Linked DNA regions of Homo sapiens: all the other regions are linked to region 1. The links are contacts of gene promoters, found by promoter capture Hi-C in blood cells and fetal thymus (Javierre and others, 2016). All regions are on one chromosome and are shown on one strand. The core of a region is centred on a gene start or on the middle of the fragment in contact, and the rest is flanking DNA. Distances in the headings are between cores, read along the strand shown. Region 1 holds the start of SMG7-AS1 (SMG7 antisense RNA 1). Region 2 holds the start of CEP350 (centrosomal protein 350). Region 3 holds the start of TOR1AIP1 (torsin 1A interacting protein 1).

Region 1 (3,128 bases), core at 39-2,538:
TCCTTAAGTGACTCCACAATACGAACCGAAAATATAACTTGTAAAACGTCAATTTCTTCAAGTCATGGATGATGAATTTTCCAGCTATTTCTCATACACTTCATATTATTATTGACTTCGTTCTTTATTTCAGCTTTTTGGCCCGAAACCTGACACAAAACACACATAATAAATATCCAAAAAGATTTGTTCTAAGAATGAAACTTCTTTTCCTAGACTCCTTTCACCAGACAGATGTATCTAGGGTTCGTTCTTCTTGATCCTCTTTTATCCGATGTTTTCCTCTCTAACTCAACGACACAGAATGACGACTTTTAAAACACTGCAGACCCGTGAGAAGAGAAAGGTTGCAGAGCAGGGAGGAACTTGGAGGTCTGCCTTTAATAATCAAGCAGGATCCCCACTGCGGGGTGCCTATCAGAGTGATGGCGCTAGTCAGCCTTCCGGCTTGTCCCCGGCTTAAATGATAGAAAACCACGTGTTAGCCTTCTAGGATGTGTTCCCACCCTCACCCTGGCCTCCTCGCGGCAGGCTCGCGACAGCTAGGTCAGGAGGGAGTACGCGGGTGGGGTGGATTTGGGGGAGGGGTCGACTCGCCAGAAGTCGGCTATCCCCGTCGGCAGGGAAGGCATCGCGGCTGTCGTGTGCCGCTCTCCTCCCTCAGGGACCCCGTCCAGGCGGGATCCCGCCTCCCAGAGCCCAAGGCAGTTGTGGGGAAACCCCTTGCCCTTCCTCGCCGCTTGGCGCTGTCGCCTCGCCCTCCCGACTCCAGCCCGCCGCCCGCCAGCCTCCAGGCCATGCATCCTCTTCGCAGGCCCAGCCCTCTCCACGCCCGGCTCTGAGAGGAAACTACGGAGGTGGTTCCCGCTCGCAGGCGGGTGGAAAAGCCCATGGTGAATGCCTCGGGGTGTCCCCCCAGTTGCTGTGGGAAGTGGGAAGGGAGGAGGAAGTGGACTTCACCACCGGGGAGAACTATATCGATTCCTAACTTGGGGGAGGCCTTTAGATGGAAGGGAAGCCAACGGGGAACCCTGGGTGGTTTCCTGGGAATCCATTGGCCAAGGGGAGGGTGACCCTGTCCGCACACATCGGTTACTATGACAATATAACCACAGCCTCCAGTTGCCATGGCAGCTGCCTATCCAATCCGATTGTCTTCTCTTCCTCTCCGGGCCCCACCTTATCCCCTCCAAGAGTCTCCCAGCGTGCATGGGGAGGGGCTGCAGCGAAGAGGAGAGGGGGTCCTTCGAGTCACTCTCTACGCGCGAGGGAAGACAGGCGTTGAGGGACTGCTGGGAGGAACTGTAGGAGGAAGGGGCGGCGTTTCCGGTGGGGAAGAGTGGAGGCGTGCAAAAAGGAAGAGGGAAATCGGCAGGAGTGATAAGAAGGGGGAAGACTTTGAGTGTAACTCCCGTTCTTTTGGCCTGGGTGTTCCCGGTGGTGGGATTGGGATTGCCCCCTTGCGCGGGAGGAGAAGGGTGGATTGGCAGGAAGCCGCCAAGCGCCACCAGCCGGTCTCTCAGAAGCCGCACAGGCGCCACACAGCTCGTTGATCCCAAAAGGGAGCGCTACAGAGAGGCGGAAATCACTGAGGGACAGGCGCTGCTGAAATCTCGCGAGAGGGACCCCCTCCCTCGCCCGGTCGCCGACTTCCTCTGCTTCTCCTCTTTCCCCCGCCCCTCCTCCCTCCCCCTCCCCCCCGGGTCGGAGTGTCCCTGCGCCCCACGGGCCAGAGCAGCAGCGAGAGCAGCTTTCCCCACTCCCTCCCCCTCGCCTCATTCACCCCCACCCCCCTGCCGAGCGAGGAGGAGCCGGAGGAGAGGAAGATGGCGGCGGCCGCCAGCACCCGCGGTGCCGCGGGGCCGCTCCGAGGAGCCTGAGAGACCCACGGAGGCTTCGCGGGAAGACGCGGCGGCGGCGGCGGAGGATGAGCCTGCAGAGCGCGCAGTACCTCCGGTGAGTGCCGAGGCCGGGCTGGTACGTAGGGGGAGCGGGCCGCAGGTTGGGGCATGGAGCAACAGACACCGAGGTAAGTCCGGGGTGGCGGGGGAGTTGCTGCGTCCTCTCCTCGCCGGGCAGGTCGGCGGAGACTGCAAGGGGATCTGCGGGAGGGGGCGGAACGGGTATGGGTGCCTAGCCCCTACCGCCCGGGCTGAGCTCTGGCGAAGCCGGCTCGTCCCGGTGCGAGGAGGGAGGTTGGGGAAGCGTGAGAATGTGCGCGCGCGCCCTTGGTCTCGGGTTTGCTAGCGAGGGGTGGAGAGAAACGTCCGGGGAGGCGGCGGCGACCCCGAGTGGAGGTGGGTGTGGAGGAGTCTGATCCCCGTGGCAGGGGACTCGTGGTGTGGCGTGGGATTGGTTGGAGCGATGCATGAGTAGAGGACGGGGAGGAAGTCTGCACACCTGGGGTGTTGGGGCGGGGGAACCGCGGAGGGCAGACAGGGGGAGAGGGAGACCGCAGGAAACTGGAGCTTGTTCTTCATTCTCGGGTTGGGAGTATTGAGGAATAATGTCATCTGTAGTTAGTTGGCGGTGTGGGGAGGCGTGAAGGGGAATAGATGGGGAAGTGAGGAAAGAGGGAGGCACTGTGGACAAGGTTGGGTTTTTCAGAAGAAACTGGGTTAGAATCAGTGTAGTCGGAAGATACCATTCTGAGAGTCGTGTGTATTCATTAAGAGTGGTGTAAGGAACTTGTATGTCAGAGGTAGAGTGACACATGGGAATAGTGTGTGTGTGTGCGAGATGTGTGTCTGGGGTGGGGGGCGCGGCGATTGATGCACATTTCAGGATGAAGATGTAGATAGGTTGAACTTAGTACCTGATGGCGAGAACATATTGAATGGAAGGACACCAGCTTTTGTGTCAGCTGAAAGGTTCCATGGAAGCTGAGTAAGAGCTTGGAGGCAGAGGTAAAGTGGGTCAAAAATCTTGATAGAGAAAAGTAAGGTTGTTAGATCCTGAAATTAACTGGGGAGTGACTACTGCTTAGAAAAGGGGAAGACTTTAAAATTGGTCCTTTTTGTCTTTCAGGAGCAGAACTAAGAAAGGGAGGCCTTATGGAAAGATGTTTTTTAAAAAATTGTTTCATACCTTGCGGAGGAGGGAGTTGGATGAGGTGGAAGTCTGAAATG
Region 2 (3,218 bases), core at 70-2,569, 3.5 Mb before region 1:
CTTGTACTCCTGACCTCGTGATCCACCCGCCTCGGCCCCGCAAAGTGCTGAGATTACAGGCGTGAGCCACTGTGACCGGCCAGTACGTGTTTCTTCGTTTTAAAAAAGTGAGTATATTTAATAAGGTGGTTGTTTACATTCAGTAAAATAGCGCATGAAAAGCATCTAACACAGGGCTTTAAACAGCAAGACTGGGCAAAACCTAAATAACATTTTCCTTATGTTGTCTTTTTTGCTACCACTTGCACCATACGATTACCCACATTTCCTGTCCCCTCCAGTGCAGCTTCCTGGAGACACTTCACACGTATGCAGGACTTCTGTACATCCTACTCAGGCACAGCTGTAGGCCCTACAAAGAGGGACCATTTACTGCCTCCTGCTGTCATTGATATTCGACAAACATTTATTGAGCACCTACAATGTCCTAGTTACTGTGCTAGGCCATTTTGGGGTATAGAGAGATAAAACAGATCTTAAAGTCTTCACGACACTTAAAGATGAGAAACAGTCTCTGGGTAAATAACTATCGGAGTTCAGAAGGTGGACAGAAGTGGTGGGCGGCGAGTCTGTGTGCAGTGAGCACCTAGCGGAAGATGGCATTATTTGCAGAAGAGAGGTCCTTTAAGCCAAGTCTTGATAGATGATTTCACCACGCGGAGATTGGGAAACGAGGACAAAGATATGAGAAGATATGTTGGCCACAGAGAGCCTCTCAAAGCACTGTTAAAGCAAAGCCAATACTTAATGGGAGGAAACTCCGTTTTACTTGCGTGGAGTCTTAAGTCATTAGATGCATGCTAAACAGAACTGTAACCCTCGCGAATAAAACGGCCACAGTGACAGCAGTGGGTAACGGCAGAGCTGCAACTACTCTGACAGGGGTGACGACTTATTTGGACGACAGTTGGTGAAACATTGTAAACTCTCAGAAGCTGCCGTTTCCAGACTTTGAGTTCATTCTTGTCGAATCCCCAGCTTGTTTTCTCAGCCCGGGGTGAAATGCGCAGCCAAAAGGCCCAATGAGCGTCAAAGCGAAAGGGCAGGGGTGGTCTCTTCTGCGGATATACCTTGGCTCCTCCCAAGTCCTACGAGTTTAAACTTCGACGCACCAAACATGGCTTCTTCGCGGTTCTGCTCCTTGTTTTATTTCGCTCCCACCTTTCGGCCACACTCAACATGGCCCTAACCGAAGGTTGGCATGCCTGTGGCACTGTCTCGGGACAGTTCTCGCGAGGTTTGCCTGGGCCCGACTGCTCCCGCCCTGCCTCGCGCCGCCGCCACAGCCGCTGCCGCTGGCGCCGCTCCTCCTCCGTGTCAGTTGTTGGGCTGTAATGGCGACTGGGCCGCCCCTGACGAAGTGACTCCCGGGCCGGGGAGCGGGGCCAGACCTGCGCCAGAGAGAACTGCAGGGAGCCGCAGCTCGGGGGGTGGCTTGCCCTGAGGGAGGGGAGGCAGCCTTTCCGCCTTGTCTTCCTTCCCAGCGGACCGGCGGATCCCCGGAGCCGGTGCGAGGAGGGCACCCGGTGCGTCCCCGGAGCGGGGAGGCCAGGCCGGGCAGCCCTGGGGCCGGTCGGGGCGGCGTCACTGCACCCTCCGCCAGGCTCCGCGGGATGCACCGTGGTAGCCGAGGGCGGAGGCGACACTCTCAGGTGAGCTCCTGTAGGACCTGGCTGGGACCGCGGAGTCTCGCTCAGCCTCAACTGTCTCTGTCCGCGGTCCCGGGTCCCCGGTGGCGGCAAGAGAGGCGGGGCCGGGCGCGGAGAGTCTTGGCCCTGCTTGGCGTCCCCCTCGGGGAACCTCCCTGGGTTCTGAGGCTTTTCGGGGACCTAGGTTTCGGGTCCCACCAGTGCCTGCTGAAGACGGAATTTCCTTCCTTACGTGCCAGTGTCCTCCCGCCTCCTCCACCCCTCCTCTAGCCTGCAGAGGTAAGATACCTCTAGCCTTTGCTGCCCGGAGAAGTGTCCCTTCTTCATCTGGCGATCAGGCGTATTTGGGGAGATTCCGGGGACTGGCTCCAGTGGCAGGGATGATCAGTTTCTGTTCCTTTTCAGTGGGGATCACATTCTCAAGTATAGGGAAAACTTTGATCTACTCTAGTCTAGCGGCTGCTGAAGGTAGTTTATTCACAGATAATTTGGGGAAAGATTTAAAAGGCTTTATGTTTTGGAAGTTGTCAGTATTTTCCTCTGCCTTTTAAATGCAGCTCAACATGCTAAGTAATATTTAGCTAATGTCACAAGATATGAATTGGAATTTGCCTGGATTTTAAATATTCAGATAGAAAGTTGCACATAGGCATAGATTTTAATGTTTTAATGCAGTAGCAAATCCTTCATATGGGAAAAAACAGGTTGTCAGAAATAGTGATCAATATCCATGTACTCCACCTGATTGTTTTGTTTTGATGGTGATCCTTGTTTTGAATTTGGGGAAGTCGTTATTGTTGCCATGTTAACGATACCTCCTGCCCTGTATTTGAAGAGTTTTAAAAGAAAGACTATCTTTGGCAGAGCTAGTAACAATCTGAAAAGTTCTGTAGAAACAATGATAAAATACTAAAAGTTGCCCTCCATTCTGAAAATTTCTTCGTTTAATATATTGTTTTTAAACAAGGAAATGCACTGCTAATGACATGGAATTGTGACTTTGAGGGATTGTTAGACCCATGCTGGAAGTTGCTTCAAAGCCATGGGCGTATAATAATTAGTTTCGGTGTGCTAAATTGACAAATTTTATTTAATGTAATGAAATAAATCTGAATCATTTGAACTGTCAGTGCATTAAATTTAAGATACTGTAATCTGAAAATAAACTTCAAGCTAGAATACATTGTATATGTGGATAAATACATGTGTATCTCTGTATCTCTTCATCCTCAGTAGCAAAATTTTGTGTATGTAGAGATGGCAAGTTGTATATGTAAAAAATTTCATACGTATGTGAACATATTTCTTTGATTTTCTGAGATAAATTGGTGTGTGTGTCATGTAAGAGCGTTAATACTTAAACAGCCAACCTTCTGTGGGGCAATCAATTTATGAATTATAAAGTTTTTGGATTTTTTCCTTCTGCTTCTGATTGTCAGTCTTTTGCCCATTTTATAACACTTCTACCATATATGAGCAGAAGAAAGGAGATGAAGTACTGCTATAATCAATTTTATTTGTTAAATTGCTATAATTTATAGTGGGAGCAAAAAAGAAGTCTAAAATAAC
Region 3 (2,947 bases), core at 156-2,655, 3.6 Mb before region 1:
CGAGAGGCGGATCACGAGGTCAGGAGATCGAGACCATCCTGGCTAACACGGTGAAACCCTGTCTCTACTAAAAATACAAAAAAATTAGCCGGGCGTGGCGGCATGCGCCTGTAGTCCCAGCTGCTGGGGAGGCTGAAGCAGGAGAATGGCGTGAATCCGGGAGGCAGAGGTTGCAGTGAGCCGAGATCGCGCCACTGGACTCCAGCCTGGGTGACAGAGCAAGACTCCGTCTCAAAAAAAATAAAATAAAAATAAAAATAAAATAAAAACATAGTACACATTACGACTTAAGTAGTTGAAATTTGTGCCAAGTTTGAGCAACAAATGAGTTGCTCAAAAACATTTTAAGGTGATTACTTGGAAGAATAAACAAACACCTTCAAACTTTTCAGAATCGCTCATTGTAACTGGTATCCAAATTACAATTTTTTAAATCTATTCACTCCAATCATACAAAGCCCTACAAGCAGTTGTATATTTGAAGGCAATTTAAGCTTTCTTTCAATAATTATTCAGACTTTACACGAACTTAATCGACCTTCTCTGAATGTGTCTAAATTTGGTTAGGTATTTGCAGATTAGCCACATCTGTAAACATTTGTATAAGGAGGTGAAACAAATAGATTTTACCATGCTTTCTTATTCCATAAAGTCCATAAAGCATTCTAAATCAAATGTAGAGTATCACGTCACATCCAGAATAAAAGTAAAAATAATGGATCACAACTTAAAATTACAGTGCTGTCTTTAATTAAAAAACTTGTTCATTTCTCACTGTGCACAATGTAGCACTAACATGGTCTTCCGAACACTGCTGCTTGGTATAAAACCGAGAAATATTAAAGACCAGGAATAAGGTTATGTGTCCTATGGGTACATTTCGGAAAAGAAAATACATCCAACGAGTATGACTCTAGATAGGATTTTGTACACCCTCAACAAGTGACAAAATTCAAAACTAGGTAACCGCCCTCATAAGGTACTTGAAACTAAAATTTTTGCCACGAAAACATGGCATGTGCAAAAGTTCTCTCTCTGGCCATCACTCCTGCTAAGGACACTGGGAAGGACATGGTCAACGTAGCAGTCGATCAAAAAGATTCCAGGGAAACTGCGCAACAGCCTGGGGCCGAGAAGCGAAACTTGGGTCTTCTCCACCCTCGTCGCACTCCTTTTCCCCGAGACTTGGTACTGGGAGATAGGACGGGAGTCTCCTACACGCAGTCAACACTTGCCACGAGCGGCTAGACTTAGGACAGGCAAGTTGCCCTGCCATCCTTCTATCGCCCCCACCCCTCCTTTACTTAAGGGCGATGGCAGAGACGTCCTCCTCCCCCTTCTCCTCCTCTTTGGTGCCTCCAGCCAGGAGGCGGGAGCGATCCACAGCAGCTGACCCAGCTCAGGCACTGCCTCTCTCACAGCCCTCAAGACACACCATGGGCCCAGAGGCAGGTTTGCTACACAGCAGCGACGACGCAGGCGGCGGCCCCAGCGACTCGCAACTGCCTCCCTGACCACAGCGGCCACCGCCCAACACCCCCGAGAAGCCATCGCCACCACCGGCAGGAGAACCTAGGGTCCATAAAGCCATCTTCGCGATCGACTAAAGCTACGTCAACAACTATGGCGGGCGACGGGCGGCGGGCAGAGGCGGTGCGGGAAGGATGGGGTGTGTACGTCACCCCCAGGGCCCCCATCCGAGAGGGAAGGGGCCGGCTCGCCCCTCAAAATGGCGGCAGCAGCGATGCGCCTGCGTACAGAACTCCTCCGTCGCGCCAGGGCCGGCGGGAAGTGAGGTTCTCGGACGAGCCGCCAGAAGTGTACGGCGACTTCGAGCCCCTGGTGGCCAAAGAAAGGTCCCCGGTGGGAAAACGAACCCGGCTAGAAGAGTTCCGGTCCGATTCTGCGAAAGAGGAAGTGAGAGAAAGCGCGTACTACCTTCGGTCTAGGCAGCGGAGGCAGCCGCGACCCCAGGAAACCGAGGAAATGAAGACGCGAAGGACTACCCGCCTTCAGCAGCAGCACTCAGAGCAGCCTCCGCTACAGCCGTCTCCTGTTATGACCAGGAGAGGGCTGCGGGACTCTCATTCCTCTGAAGGTGAGGACCGCGGAGGTAACAGTCCCAGCCGCGAGCCAGGGAACGCGCGGGGGCGGGCGCGCGCCTCGGTGGAGCTCATGCCCGCCTGGGTACTAAGTACTGGGATTGGCTAAAGGGTATTCCTCAGCCCCCTCTGGACTTGTGCCGCCGTGCAAGGGCCACCCTGACCCGCAGCGGGGAAGGAAGCGCCGACCGGAGGAGTGGAAAGATGGTCGTGTGGAGCGACCCGGGCAGGGCTGGGGCGCTCTGCCCAACATCGGGCATCAATTTAGGGGAGTCAGAGCTGCCTTTTTCTGCAGGCCTTCACGAGGGGACAGCGAATTACTGCAGGGTCGGTTTCATTTCGGTTCCCTCTACCCTGCGGATGTTTCTACAGAAACCACTTCCATTTCCTTCTTTAACGCTCGCGGGCCAGAGTCCCCAGCTGAGGATCTAACCTTTCAGTCTTTTTCCCTCCTCACCCAGGTGGGCAGAGAGGAAGGAGAAATTTTGTGAGTGGGCATTTCGAGGGATTGCTGAGTTTAGTGAATTGATTTGAGACCTCACCCAATACTTTCACCGAAATGGGGTAACTCATTTTTCCTGAACTGATGTTCCCCAGTGTTTGATAACTTGAGCTGATTGCTGTTTCTCCAGTGTGGTGGTCCCTGCCAAAAATCTGCCACTTTGGTGGCCGTCACTGTAACCTCAAGTAGTCTGGCAAATCAGACTGACAAAGTAACCTGAAAAACAAGACTATTAATTAGAGTTTTCGTCTAAATGGACAAAAGGGATGCTGACAAAGTGAGTGTATAGTGTTAGGTAAGTCATAGGTGAATCAGTTTCCTTAATCTATCCTCTCCCACCCTG

The links. Contacts are between HindIII fragments. The CHiCAGO score rates a contact against its expected background, and 5 or more counts as called.
Region 2: the fragment with the promoter of CEP350 here is called in contact with the fragment with the promoter of SMG7-AS1 in region 1 in 5 of 17 cell types (non-activated CD4 T cells, total CD4 T cells, naive CD8 T cells and 2 more); the score reaches 10.1 in non-activated CD4 T cells.
Region 3: the fragment with the promoter of TOR1AIP1 here is called in contact with the fragment with the promoter of SMG7-AS1 in region 1 in 4 of 17 cell types (activated CD4 T cells, non-activated CD4 T cells, total CD8 T cells and 1 more); the score reaches 8.7 in activated CD4 T cells.

What each region holds. Positions count from the first base shown.
Region 1 is chr1:183,470,694-183,473,821 of GRCh38, forward strand. It overlaps SMG7-AS1 (SMG7 antisense RNA 1), which reads right to left and starts at 1,289. Exons shown (of 5, transcript NR_040063.1): 1 at 27-1,289. It overlaps SMG7 (SMG7 nonsense mediated mRNA decay factor), which reads left to right and starts at 1,806. Exons shown (of 23, transcript NM_001375584.1): 1 at 1,806-1,956. The coding sequence starts at 1,928. RefSeq lists an enhancer at 857-1,488 and a silencer at 1,644-1,793. The HindIII fragment of the contact is 8,906 bases long and covers 1-3,128 here.
Region 2 is chr1:179,953,491-179,956,708 of GRCh38, forward strand. CEP350 (centrosomal protein 350) reads left to right here and starts at 1,320. Exons shown (of 38, transcript NM_014810.5): 1 at 1,320-1,652. RefSeq lists an enhancer at 1,016-1,517 and a silencer at 1,305-1,754. The HindIII fragment of the contact is 10,111 bases long and covers 1-3,218 here.
Region 3 is chr1:179,880,880-179,883,826 of GRCh38, forward strand. It overlaps TOR1AIP1 (torsin 1A interacting protein 1), which reads left to right and starts at 1,406. Exons shown (of 10, transcript NM_015602.4): 1 at 1,406-2,098. The coding sequence starts at 1,624. LOC139427322 reads left to right here and starts at 1,437. Exons shown (of 1, transcript NM_001436163.1): 1 at 1,437-1,514. The coding sequence starts at 1,437. The coding sequence ends at 1,514. RefSeq lists enhancers at 772-1,310, 1,223-1,332, 1,311-1,848, 1,353-2,112, 1,675-1,969 and 1 more. The HindIII fragment of the contact is 5,266 bases long and covers 493-2,947 here.